3 separate regions of the Homo sapiens genome follow, and regions 2 and 3 are each linked to region 1. Evidence: promoter capture Hi-C in 16 types of primary human blood cells and fetal thymus (Javierre and others, 2016). All regions are on one chromosome and are shown on one strand. The core of a region is centred on a gene start or on the middle of the fragment in contact, and the rest is flanking DNA. Distances in the headings are between cores, read along the strand shown. Region 1 holds the start of PLPP5 (phospholipid phosphatase 5). Region 2 overlaps BAG4 (BAG cochaperone 4). Region 3 overlaps LSM1 (LSM1 homolog, mRNA degradation associated).

Region 1 (4,188 bases), core at 236-2,735:
TATGGGGAAGGGAGTAAGCGTTGAATGACAAAAGAAAAATCAGAGTGAAGATAAAGGAGAAAAGAATGAGAAAGACGTGTGGTGGACACCATTAACCTCTCTGTTCTGGTGGGTAAGGGCTGAGGCAGATGCTGGGGTGGTTAGCTGTTGTCACTTACCTCCCTACGATCAGTTTTATTGTGTTGGTAAAGACGCCATTCAGAGCCAGGGCAAGGCTGGCAGCTGCAAAGCAAAGCCATTAGTTGAAAGGATCTGTCTAGGAGGAAAGGTATGGTCATGGCCTCGTTATGAGAGCAGCCGTGCTGTTTCTGAGATGGATAGAATCCAACCAGGCCTGGGCACAAAAATAATTAGGGTCCTCAGTGATCACTCTTTTGTAGCCGAGAACTTTTGTACTAGGCCAAAGACATTTCTGAGGTACAAATAACCCAGTGCATTTAGGCACAGGGCTGCCTGCCGTGTAGCCTGCGTAACCAAGTCCCTGCAGTGCTATTTTCCTCTCCCGCGGGGATAGAGTTCCTTTAGGAATGCAGAACTCAGTGGCCTCCACACAGGCTCACCGTGGCTGAATCCCACAACGACCTCCTAGGTTCCCAGCACGAAGAAACCGGCCCGAAAGGGCTAGCGCTCACCCAGGCAGGCTTGTCTGCTGTCTCTTGTGTCTGCCTTCTTGAGAAATTTGGCCAGGAAGATCAGAGACAGTGGAGAGAGAAATGCAATAACCTGAATCAGAATGTCAGAGGTTAAAAACAATCCAAAAAAAAGCCACACTCGTGCTCCTACAGGAAAGAGGGATGTGACACAGCAGGACTCACTGGAGCTAACATAAGGTCTCTGAGTGCGCGTAACCGGGCGCCAGGCAGCGCCACCAGTGAACAGCAGCGCCCGTGCGGCTCGGGCCCCGGTACCTCAGGCTGAGGCACAGAGCGCCCGGGAAAACGTTGTCTCAGCCCAAAGAGGCTCGGACACCCTCCTCTCTCAATCAGGATCTTAAACACTCGAGCCCTAGGAGGCGGAACCCAGCGCACAGCAGCGGAGTGGGCAGTGGGTCCCTACAAAGGCCGTCTCGGGGTGGAAAACGCACAGGTGCCCGCGGGAAGCCGGGTCATGGGGAGGGAGGAAAGACGATCTTTCTCCACGCACAAACATCGGCTTGGTGGGGAAATACTCCGCCTCCACGTAGGGGTTCCGGTAGAGCCACATCTCCTCCGGCTGGATGAGTCTCTGGAACGGGGGGAGCAGCTCCGTCACCCTAGAGGGGAACAAAGAAGCGCAGAGCAGGTCGCCTGGCTTCCTCCCCGCTTCCCCACTGCCCGACCCGCCGCCCCGTGCCGCCCGCCTGCCTGGGAAGCGGGGCCGCCCGGGCCCGGCCGTGGATCTTTCTTACAGGAAGGCCGCGAACAGCGCGAGCCGCACGCCCACTTCGGCCCCAAAGGCCACCGCCGCCGCCGCCTTCCCCATCCGGCCGCGAGCTCCGAGCGACGCTGCGCTGACGTGGCCACCTCCGCGGGGAGGGCCGGGCCGGGAACTGGGCACCGCCCCCTCTCCCAGTTGCCCGCGCTCCGGCGGCTCCCCAGGAAGACGGCCTGGCGGCTGTGCCGAGGGCATCGTCTGGCAAAGGGTACGCAAAGCCAGCGGAGCTGCCCTCTGGTGCGTTCAGCAGGGAGCCAGCGCCCCAGTTCCAGCCGAGTAGGTCGGCGTACGGTCCATCATCAGCAGCTCGTCTCCACGGCCCAACCACACCACCGCGGGGAGCAGCCTTCTCCCGGGACCTCGCCTCTAAATGGAAAACCAAACAGCCCGCTCTCAGATCCTCGTTCCTTAGCAACACAGCCGCATTCTGCAGGAAGCTACACTACCTGAGGTTGGCTGGATTGTGTCATTTAGTCCTCCCACCCAGGATGGCCTCCTGCCCAGAGTGTTGTAGCAAAAAATTATTGGCAAAGAACAAGCCCACATATTTAATTTGGAACATACAGGACAATTTATTGAAGTCAATCTCAAGCAAAATCTGAAATCAGTGGAATGTCATTAAAAACCTTTCCAAATTAATCCTCACGGAAGCAAAAAACACATTGGAATTCCAAAGTATTTGTAAAATAAAAAAGGCAACATCTCAGTAAATATAATGTACAAAAATTATATGTTCCTACCAGCACACACATCAGTAAAGAAGCTTAAATATTACAGGCAACCCTAAATACACTATAACTAGTCAACAATAAGCTATCTATATACAGGTTAACCAAGCTTTACACGTTTCACACTATGCAATAAAACATAGGCCAATCAACAAAATCCTCAAAATATTATATATCTTGAAGTCTATGTGGCAACATCAAGTCATTATACAGTAATGCCCTAGTGGAACACCCCCAGGGAAAATTAACACTAATCCCTTAGTGTCAAGAGCTTCTAGCCAAGTCACAGAAACTCAAAAGAGATTGACTTTAGTGAATATTGATGCTTTGTTATTAAAGACTCAAGTCTCAAGTGATTTAGGCAAAGTAATGGTTCACAGGATCTACAAAGTTTATTACAGATAAAGTACAGAAATAACCAATCTACAAAGATCATTATCATAAAGAACACGAGAAAATGAAAACGGAGTCTGTAGGTATCTGTGTTTGTTGTGCAATATCACTCAAATGGGTACAAATGAGTTTCTCATATCAATTCCAAATATACACATACCCTTGTATATAAAAAATGATATTAGCCAGTTGTAATACTCATTTAGCATCTTGATTATTAGTGGCAATATAATTATCTTAACATAGGGCATGTAACAGGACAAATGAGATAAAATAATGACAACCAAGTAAGTTTTATCCAGTCCATTTCTAAACTGACAAGAATACCTTATTCAATACCTTATATAGGTCATCTGACAGATACTTGAGGGCTGTTTGCACACATCAAGTGTGTTGGCAGGCAGGGAGGGGAGCAGTAAAAGCTGAGGGTGCTTTCTCACTAACTAGCAGATGCAGTAATGCCACATAAGAAAACTAAGGACTGAATAAATGACTTTGGCATCTATTCTATTTTCCCTTTTTACTTACATGTAAATTACTTTTACAGCCTACTGAAGGACAGGCAATTCTCATCCCCCTCCCGCTTCATACATACGTGCCACAAGCACCCAAACTTGTCACTTATGCAATGGACTGACCAAAACAAAACAAAAAACAGAAATGTTTTTTGAAAGACACGGATTACCCACATTTTGGGAGTGTAACGTAAGTGCAATTTTTTGTTTTGTTTTTTTCCCTACATAGACATAGTAAAAGGAAAGAAGATGTGCTTGGGGAGAGGGTTGACAAAATGACAAAATAAAGAATGTACATAAAAAGTATTTGTAAAAATGCTGGTATCTCATGCAGGAGTCTCTTCCTCAAATGTGTTCAATCAATCTGAGCTATCTACTGTGAACACTCTCCCATTTGCAGAACTTCACCTTTAATCCACGCTAAAGAGGATAAGAGACTAGGCTATTTATTTTCAAAACAGTTTACAAAACAATGCTTTCTACTTCATAAATGTAAAAAGAAACTAAAATAAGGAGAATCTGAAGAGTTTCAAGTACTTAAAAAACCTGAATTCAATGAGGCAGAGGTCTCAATGTTAAAGTGACTATTTCGTACCTGTGGTAAACATTATCCCCCCCCTTACCCTTTACCAGGAGAAAGGGGGTTCCCTTTCTCCTGGTACCCCACCCCAGGTAAAAGTTGGTGAGATTTCAGTATATACACATTTCCAACTTTTCAGTATTTGTTAATTCATTGCAAAGCTGTCTAATTATAGTATTCCCTAGTCCATCTGAAAATGGAAGCAAGTTCTACTTTTTGTTTTACAAATAACCAGAGACCAATTCTAGGTGGCCCTAGGCCAAAGGAAAGTGTTTCCATTCATCAATTCATGTCTGCACCAACTTGGACAACTGGGGGAGGCTGGATGCATCAGCCTTGTGAAAAGTAACTTTAGTCTACGCTGCCCAGAAATAAAGCAACTTTCCAATGTCCTTTTTCTCATATGGAAGTATAGAATGTCAGCTTCCCAGCTGTGAGGGCTCCATAGCCACTGTTTTCTTATCTTGTTAAGAGGACATGGCATGTGGCAGCCAACACCTTGACTTCAAGGTGAATGCTAAAGGAAGAGCTTTGTATTTAAAATGAAATGAAAGACAAG
Region 2 (4,248 bases), core at 72-2,571, 67 kb before region 1:
GAGATAGATAGTCTTGCTCTACCACCCAGTTCATTGTAGTGGCATAATCATAGATCACTGTAACCTTGAACTCCTGGACTTAAGTGATCCTCCTGTCTCAGTGTCCTAGGTACAGGTGCGTGCAACCACACCTGGTTTAATTTTTAAATATTTTGCAGAGATGGGGTCTCATTATGTTGCCTAGGCTGGTCTTGAACTCCTGGGCTCAGGTGATCCTTCTACCTCAGCATCCCAAAGTGTTGGGATTACAGGCGTGAGCCATTGCACTTGGTCTAGCTTCTATCCAAGATAGACTCCTATAGTGGTATATAGATATGACTGGTTTCCTTTTTAAAAAATTAAGCAGTATCATGTCTTTACCTTCCGGCTACCTCCTTGGGTTAGCCTTGCCACATGGTCATTCTTCTGTTTGGTTGGTTTTATAAATCTTAAAAATTCTCATTCAAAAGTAGCTATAATAAGCCAAGAATATGTAATTTCATGCATTTATTCTGAGTGTGGAATTTATATATATATATATATATATATATATATATATATATATATATATATTTTTTTTTTTTTTTTTTTTTTTTTTTTTAAGAAGCTGTTAATGTTGCTAAGGTGTCTGACCAATCTTCCAAGTTGATTAGCCTGCCATGTGCCAGGTGCAGTTTATGTGCTATGCAAGTATTAGGGCAGCATTTGAACTAAAGCCTTCCTCATTTTTCAGAACTTCATTCTTTAACTAATAGTGTGGACTCTTGAGAGGAGCATGGAGGGCGATTCATGGAGTAGGGTGTGAACAGCACGGAAGTTCACAATCTCAGGCTGTATCTCTGGAAGCAGAAGATATTGTCTCACCCAACTGTTAATAAAGTTCGTGAGGTTTTCTCAGTATTATTCAAACTCGGTTGAGTTGCTTCTGCTTTGTTCTTAAGTCCTTCTTTTTCCTTTTCTTTTCTTTCTTTTTTTGAGACCAGGTCTCCCTCTGTCACCCAGGCTGGAGTACAGTGGTATGATATTGGCTTACTGCAACCTCCACCTCCTGGGCTCAAGCGATCCTCCCACTGCAGCCTCCTGAGTAGCTGGGACTACAGGCACATGCCACCATTCCCAGCTAATTTTTGTATTTTTTGTAGAGAGGGGGTTGCCCCCGCTTATCTTAAACTCTTTGAGTTTAAGCAGTCCACCTGCCTTGGCCTTCCAAAGTGCTAGGATTACAGGCATGAGCCACTGTGCTCGGCCCCCTTTTTTTTTTTTTTTCTGTTTCTCAGGCTGGAGTGCAATGGCATGATCACAGCTCACTGCAGCCTCAATCTCCTCTGGCTCAGGTGATCCTCCCACCTTAACTGCTTGAGTGGCTGGGACCTTAGGCATACGCCACTACACCTGGCTAATTTTTGTATTTTTTGTAGAGATGGGGTCTCACTTTGTTGCCCAGGCTGGTCTGGAACTCCTGACCTCAAGCGATCCACCTGCCTTGGTCTCCCAAAGTGCTAGAATTACAAGAATGAGCTACCACGCCTGGCCAAGTCCTTCATTTTTATGACATACTTTAATATGTAACAGAAATCTGTTCTGAAGTCCTAGAAGCATTTTCTTCCTTTTTGGATTCCGTCTTATGACTCTAAATGGTGCAAGGAACTCCTGTATTTTCTTTGCTGTGCTCCAAGTGTCAACCTAAAATAACAACAGAGAGAAGGACTCTTCAAAGAAATGAATCTGTTTGGAAATAAACAGAGAATTACAATTTCAGATGCGCATACCATAGATAATCATCCCCTACATATCTGGAGAAGTTGTAGTAAGGGGAAACTTTTAAAGGGAAAGAGGAGAAGTCCATATAAGCTGTTTTGAGACAAACATCATTGGTCACAGGGGCCTGTTGTAGGAGCTGATGTTACTGGAAACTCATTGCTAAGCGAGTGTTCTTATGAAGATGGCTTATGTGAAACTGCAGTCTTGAGGAATTTTTTTTTTTTCTTTTTTTGGACAGAGTTTCACTCTGTCGCCCAGGCTGGAGTGCCATGGCACGATCTTGGCTCACTGCAAGCTCCGCCTCCCGAGTTCACGCCATTCTCCTGCCTCAGCCTCCTGAGTAGCTGGGACTACAGTCGCCTGCCACCACGCCCAGCTAATTTTTTTGTATTTTTAGTAGAGACAGGGTTTCACCGTGTTAGCCAGGATGGTCTCGATCTCCTGACCTCGTGATCCGCCCACCTTGGCCTCCCAAAGTGCTCAGATTACAGGTGTGAGCCACCGTGCCTGGTTGAGGAATTTTTTGTGATAAGTCCTGTTACAGACATATGTAGGACAAGCAAGATGAGTAGGGCCTACAGGGATTTTTTGTGAGTTTTTAGAAAGCCCTGTGATATAGGCTGGGTGCAGTGGCTCATACCTGTAGTCCAAGCTACTTGGGAGGCTGAGGCAGGAGGATAACTTGAGCCTGGGAGATCTAGGCTGCAGTGAGCTATGATGGTGCCACTGTACTCTAGCCTGGGTGACAGAGTGAGACCCTGTCTCAAAAAAAAAAAAAAAAAAAGTCCTTGTGATAATACTTATCGCAGACATGTGTGCATGAGATCCCCTCCTTCGTGACCTCCCCCTCCATTTTGGGTCTGATGTAAGTGACTCCATCTTGGCATTGGCAACTTTCACACAAGCTGCTTTTCAGACAAAGACTTAAAAACTTTGCCACGTTTCTGAAATAGGATCTTTAGCTCATCCTTAACAAACATCTTTAGCAACTGCAAGGCTGTTATATAATCTGATTCTGTGTTCTTTTGTAAACATGCATGTGACAGCTTTGTGATCTGTCAGGACAGTGGTTATTTGGGAAAAGAAGCAATGAACTCATGAAGGCATCTCAAAACCAGGAAGTAATTCCAGGAATCAAGGAAATTTTCAAGCATCAAAAGTAATGGCTGGCCAGATGTGGTGGCTCACACCTGTAATCCCAGCACTTTGGGAAGCTGAGGCGAGTGGATTGCTTGAGCCCAGGAGTTCGAGATCAGCCTGGGCAACATGGCCAAACCCTGTCTCTACAAAAAATACAAAAATTAGCCAGGCATGGTGGTGCATGCCTGTGGTCCCAGTTACTTAGGATGCTAAGGTGGGAGGATTGCTTGAGCCCGGAGTTTGAGGCTGCAGTGAGCCGTGATTGTGCCACTGCATTCTACCCTGGGTGTCTTGGGGAGAAAAAAAGTAATGGCCAGGCATGGTATAATCCCAGCACTTTGGGAGGCTGAGGTGCCAGGATCACTTCAGCCTAAAAGTTTGAGACTAGCCTGGCAACATAGCGTGACCTCATTTCTATTTAAAGAAAAACAACAACAACGAAAAAAAAAACAAAAACAACGCCTGTGAGAAGGGAAAAAGAAAAAAAATAAACAACAAAAGCCACATAAAAGCAATGAGAATCACACACTAAAGTAACATGAACCCATCTATTGGTTTCAATGGGTTATCAGTACATGGCCGTCGTGTATTTATTCTTGGAGTATTTCCTTGGAGTATTTTGAAGCAATTTCAGATATCATTTTATCACTTATAAATACCTAAGTATGTTTCTTTAAAATATAAGGAAGTTTTAAAAACATAACCACAATGTTTTTAAACATTTTTAATTAAAAATTAAAACTTAAAAGGAAAAAAACAACCTTAAAAATAATTATTTCATATCATTAAATATCTGGTCAGTTCTAACAGTAAAATATTTATTTAGTTAGTTAGCTAGTTGAAGACAGGGTCTTACTGTCACCCAGGCTAGAGAACAGTGGCTTGATTATAGCTCACTGTAACATTGAACTCCTAGGCTCAAACGATCCTCCTGCCTCAGCCTCCTGTGTAGCTAAGGACTATAGCTGTGCCATACCACGCCCAGCTAATTAATTTTTTTTTTTTTTTTTTTTTTTTTTTTTGTAGAGATGAGGTCTTGCTGTTTGCACAGGCTGTTCTCAGACTCCTGGGCTCAAGCAATCCTCCCACCTTGGCTTCCCAAAACGCTGGGATTTTTACAGGCATGAGTCTGTGCGCCTAGCCATAACAATAAAATTTGAAGACTGAATACAATTTTTTCAATGAATAGTCTTTAATCTACTTAAAGATTCCATTGTTATAGGACATTTAGGTAGTTTACAATTTTGTGTGATTGTAAATAATGCTGCGATGAAGAACTTCATGTCTATAACTTTTTCTCTAGTTGAATCATTTCCTTAGGATTTCTAGAAGTTGAATAACAGTACAAAAAGTCACATAATGTTTTAT
Region 3 (4,645 bases), core at 2,021-4,520, 100 kb before region 1:
TGGGCTGAAGTGATCCTCCTGCCTCAGCCTCCTAAGTAGCTGGAACTACAGGCATGTGCCACCACATCTGGCATTAAATCTTTTTTCTTTTTGTAGAGATGGGGTCTTGCTATGTTGCCCAGGCTGGTCTCAAACTTCTGGCCTCAAGCATCCTCTTGCCTTGGCCTCCCAAAGTGTGAGCCACTGTGCCTGGCCCTTATAAACATTTGCTAACCAATGTCATAATGCAGAAGAACCTTGCTAAAAAAGTATCTCACTGTCCATAGATTCAGTTTATTGTCCTTAAAATGAATGTACAGGTATTATTTGGTGTTTTTGTAAGATGGAAAGCCTATACAAAGTATTCCTGTTTCTTACCCTCCTCTATGACTTTCAATGATAAAAGTTTGGGACGGTACTGACACACTTCTCCAGATGCTCTGCCCTGCATACTATTACCACATGCTGCCAAGGTCTCAGAACTCACAGGCAGTGGCATTATCAGTCAGAGAGGACTCTCACCACAGAAGTTACAATGAAAGCCACACAAATTACATAAGCAAGCCCTGCTCTAGGTCCAAAGTTAACAGCACCCAGCAAAGTATATATTACCACCTGCCCTCCCAACCCATGAGTAGCAGCTAAAGAGAGCACAGTGTTCTCGGCCTAATGCACTGCCTCTTGGGCTTTTCAGTATGTGACTTGCTAAGCAATTCATGCTGCTGTTGCTGCTTCTTCCCAACAGTCTTATTACTTAATGCTGTGTCATCATCATCGTCCTTGAGGCAGAATTCAGGGATTTCTTAACCAATATAGTGTTTACAGAAACTGATTTCTATGTATGAATTCCTCTGGGGTTGGTACATAATTTCTCCTGATTGCTGATTCACATAACAATGCAGGCATTCCTGGAACCAAGTTTCTGTAGTGGTACCCCTGTAAAACTTCTGCAGCATCCAAACCATAACATATTTTTTTAAAAAAGGGAACTTTTCCTCACAAAAGGGATCCAAGGAAACAATTAAACTTCAAGAACAAACACGTTCACCTCTTTCTCTGCACAAACACACACATCTACTTAGATGTAACTTTGTGCCAATGTAACCAGTATAAAAAGCATGTCTGCTATGTTTACTACTATAAAACAGAAGCATATCTGTGAATATTTTCTTGAGAAAGGGTCTTGCTCTGTTACCCAGGTTGGAGTGCAGTGGTACAATCATGGCTCACTGTAGCCTCGACCTCCCTGAGCTCAGGTGAATCTCCCACCTCAGCCTCCCAAGTAGCTGGGACTGGTGATGTGCACCATCACCCCTGGCTAATTTTTGTATTTTTTTGTAAAGACAGGGTTTGGCCATGTTGCCCAGGCTGGTCTCTTGCAGCTTAAGCGATCTGCCTGCCTCGGCCTCCCAAAGTACTGGGATTACAGACGTGAGCCACTGCACCCACCCCAGTATTTTAACTTAAGTTTTTTCCTCTGATACGTTGCCTCTTCAAAATTAAATTCAGAAAAGTATTTTTAAAAATCATCTATAACCCCACCATGCAGAGATGGGTCAGCTCCCCTATATACTGGCAGTATCAAGCACAGTGGCATGTACCTATAGTCCCGGCTACTTGGGAGGCTGAGACAGGAGGATTGCCTAAGCCTAGGAGTTTGAATCTAGCCTGGGCAACATAGTGAGACCCCATCTCTGGAAGAAAAAAAATACTGGCAGACTACTTTACAGTCATGTAGTGTCTCCCCATGGGTACCATGGTACTAGGTGCTTTCAGACTTTTTTTTTTTTTTGAGACGGAATCTTGCTCTGTCGCCCAGGCTGGAGTGCACTGGCACGATCTCGACTCACTGCAAGCTCCGCCTCCTGGGTTCATGCCATTCTCCTACCTCAGCCTCCCAAGTAGCTGGGACTACAGGCGCCCGCCACCACACCCGGCTAACTTTTTTGTATTTTAATAGGGATGGGGTTTCACTGTGTTAGCCAGGATGGTCTCGATCTCCTGACCTTGTGATCCGCCCGCCTCAGCCTCCCGAAGTGCTGGGATTACAGGCGTGAGGCACCGCACCTGGCCTTGTTTCAGCCTTTATGCGACACAAGAAGATAACAATTTCTGCTGCTTGGCTGGGCGCGGTGGCTCATGCCTGTAATCCCAGCACACTGGGAGGCCGAGGCGGGTAGATCGCCTGAGGTCAGGAGTTCGAGACCAGCCTGGCCAACATAGTGAAACCCCGTCTCTACTAAAAATACAAAAATTAGCTGGGCTTGGTTGCGGGCACCTGTAATCCCAGCTACTCGGGAGGCTGAGGCAGGAGAATCACTTGAACCTGGGAGGCGGAAGTTGCAGTGAGCTGAGATCATGCCATTGCACTCCAGCCTGGGCAACAGGAGCAAAACTCTGTCCCAAAAAAAAAAAAAAACCCAAAAAACAAAAAACAATTTCTGCTGCTTAAACATGCAAGAAATGATACACTGAACTAAAAGTACAAACTACAAAAATATTTTATAAGAAAAATTTTTATAAGTATTACTTATAAATATTTTATAAGTAAGAAAAAGCTATTTCATATATTTCACAGCATATATTTCATATATTCATATATTTCATATACTTCATATATTTCACTTGGGCAGTATTGATAGTCTGGATTAGTCATTTCTAGCTATTTCCAATATGAGGTCTCTGAACCAACCCAACCCTAGCAGAATTATCTCCTTGCTTTCTCAAATGGCTGTTAAAAATGGCTACAAACCAAACCACTCTAAAGATTTCTGCAAACTGATTTAAGACATGGCTAGGTATTTAGAAAACAGTATTAAAAACTTTAAAAATTAAGCAAACACCAAAGTTTTTGGTAAGAAAAAAGAAGACAGTGCTGGCTCAACCCTTAATTTCAACTACTCTTGAAGAGATTTTTATTTTCCTTGCAAACCCAATAATCAGAAATAACAAGATGAAATCAAAGGTTTTAAATAAGATACTTTAAAAAAAAATCTGAGTACTTCTAGTAGGGGTGTGTGTGTGTATGTCTGCACACACGAAGACCTACAGCAACAATACCTCAGAAAATCTGATTTAACCTTTCACCTGCCAGCTGGTCTTTCTGGCACAGATACCAAAATACCCTCTCCCTGGCTGTGAGCTAAGGATCCAAGTAAGACTGAACTCCATTCTCGGGATAGGTAACGGAAAAGCTTTTCCTATAGCTACTCTTTCCCTTTCCCCCTTTACTAATATGGATATCACATTGTACTGTACAGGCAATATGTACTTCCCTGAAATACTGTGCATTAGCTTTATGCCATGAAAAACCACTTGTAACCAATTGTTTAAATGACTGCAAAATATTCCAACGTATGTAAGACACACCTTCCCCAGCATATATAAATCAAGCTTTGTCAATTTTCTGCTATTAAACAAATATATTAATGAACACATTTGTTAAGGCACTGAAACAAAGTATTCTCTGTAGCTTCCCTAAATTAATTTGGTAGTTGCCTAGGAGAAGCCAGATAAATGTGGAGAATATTTTTATTCTCTTTTGAAAAGACAAAAAAAGAAGTCTAACTAGCATGAATATGAAGATCTACAGCAGCTTAATAGTTTTCACTTACTATTTCTCCTAGTAGGACCACATTTTCTCCTCTGACCACAAAAATCCCTCGAGGAATATCACCGTATTTTTTGCCCACATGAATACGCTCCACAGTCTGATGTAGCACTAAGTTTGCTGTAAGTGTATAGGGAAAAACCAAAGATATTTAGTTTAAACTACTGGGTAAAGGCCCATAACTCAATAATCAGTTATTTTGAAAAGATTTAGGTAAACATGATTTCCAAGCTTTCTAATTATTTTTATTTATTTATTTTTTGAGACCGAGTCTCGCTCTGTCACCCAGGCTGGACTGCAGTGGCGCCATCTCAGCTCACTGCAACCTCTGCCTACTGGTTCAAGCAATTCTCCTGCCTCAGATTCCGGAGTAGCTGGGACTACAGGTGCCTGCCACCACTCCCGGCTAATTCTGTATTTTTAGCAGAGACAGGGATCACCACATTGGCCAGGCTGGTCTTGAACTCCTGGCCTTGTGATCCGCCCACCTCGGCCTTCCAAAGTGCTGGGATTACAGGCGTGAGCCACAGTGCCGGGCCCCCAAGCTTTCTAATTCTGGGGAAGGCTAAAATTTCAAATAATCTTCTCCTATTTCATTGAGTAAGACGTACCAGTTAGGAGATGTCTGGGATTATGTTGGGCTAATACATGAATGACAGCAGAAATAAGAGAAATAAATTCCTTTATCAGTTAATTGCTAATACCAAAAAAAACCATAGGAAAATATAAATGAATAAGGAACTTGGAAAACTTGGGCCTAAACAACCACAGAGATCAAAACTTTTGTTTTCTGGAAAGAAACAGCTTTTCTTTTTGTGTGGGTGTGTATGTGATGATCTGCTGAAGATTCAACTTTCTTTTAGTAATTAGGATTCATTTGACCCAACGCAGGTATCCATGGGTTATGATACAGCAAAAACCTATTTTTTCACCTTGACAGATAACTATATTTGTAATCTAAAAGTCAACTTAATAGCCACTACCCTTCCCTCAAAGTACTCTGATGAATCTGACTTAAGAATCAGGACTCCAATTTGTTAACAATAATTATTTTTC

Evidence for each region. The method cuts DNA at HindIII sites, captures the fragments that hold promoters and counts their contacts. A CHiCAGO score of 5 or more calls a contact.
Region 2: a fragment that was not itself captured here is called in contact with the fragment with the promoter of PLPP5 in region 1 in 5 of 17 cell types (naive CD8 T cells, naive CD4 T cells, erythroblasts and 2 more); the score reaches 6.3 in naive CD8 T cells.
Region 3: a contact is called between a fragment that was not itself captured here and the fragment with the promoter of PLPP5 in region 1, in 5 of 17 cell types (total CD4 T cells, total CD8 T cells, total B cells and 2 more). The highest score is 7.3, in total CD4 T cells.

What each region holds. Positions count from the first base shown.
Region 1 is chr8:38,267,739-38,271,926 of GRCh38, forward strand. It overlaps PLPP5 (phospholipid phosphatase 5), which reads right to left and starts at 1,486. Exons shown (of 7, transcript NM_001102559.2): 1 at 1,388-1,486; 2 at 1,144-1,252; 3 at 633-723; 4 at 159-222. The coding sequence starts at 1,461. It overlaps NSD3 (nuclear receptor binding SET domain protein 3), which reads right to left. Exons shown (of 24, transcript NM_023034.2): 24 at 1,966-4,188. It also overlaps a transcript of DDHD2 not described here. RefSeq lists a silencer at 1,205-1,684. The HindIII fragment of the contact is 3,801 bases long and covers 1-2,174 here.
Region 2 is chr8:38,201,330-38,205,577 of GRCh38, forward strand. All of the region lies in intron 2 of BAG4 (BAG cochaperone 4), which reads left to right. Among named protein-coding and RNA genes, the nearest start is that of BAG4, 27 kb to the left of the region's middle. The HindIII fragment of the contact is 6,490 bases long and covers 1-4,248 here.
Region 3 is chr8:38,166,209-38,170,853 of GRCh38, forward strand. LSM1 (LSM1 homolog, mRNA degradation associated) reads right to left here. Exons shown (of 4, transcript NM_014462.3): 3 at 3,594-3,709. Among named protein-coding and RNA genes, the nearest start is that of LSM1, 8.0 kb to the right of the region's middle. The HindIII fragment of the contact is 199 bases long and covers 3,172-3,370 here.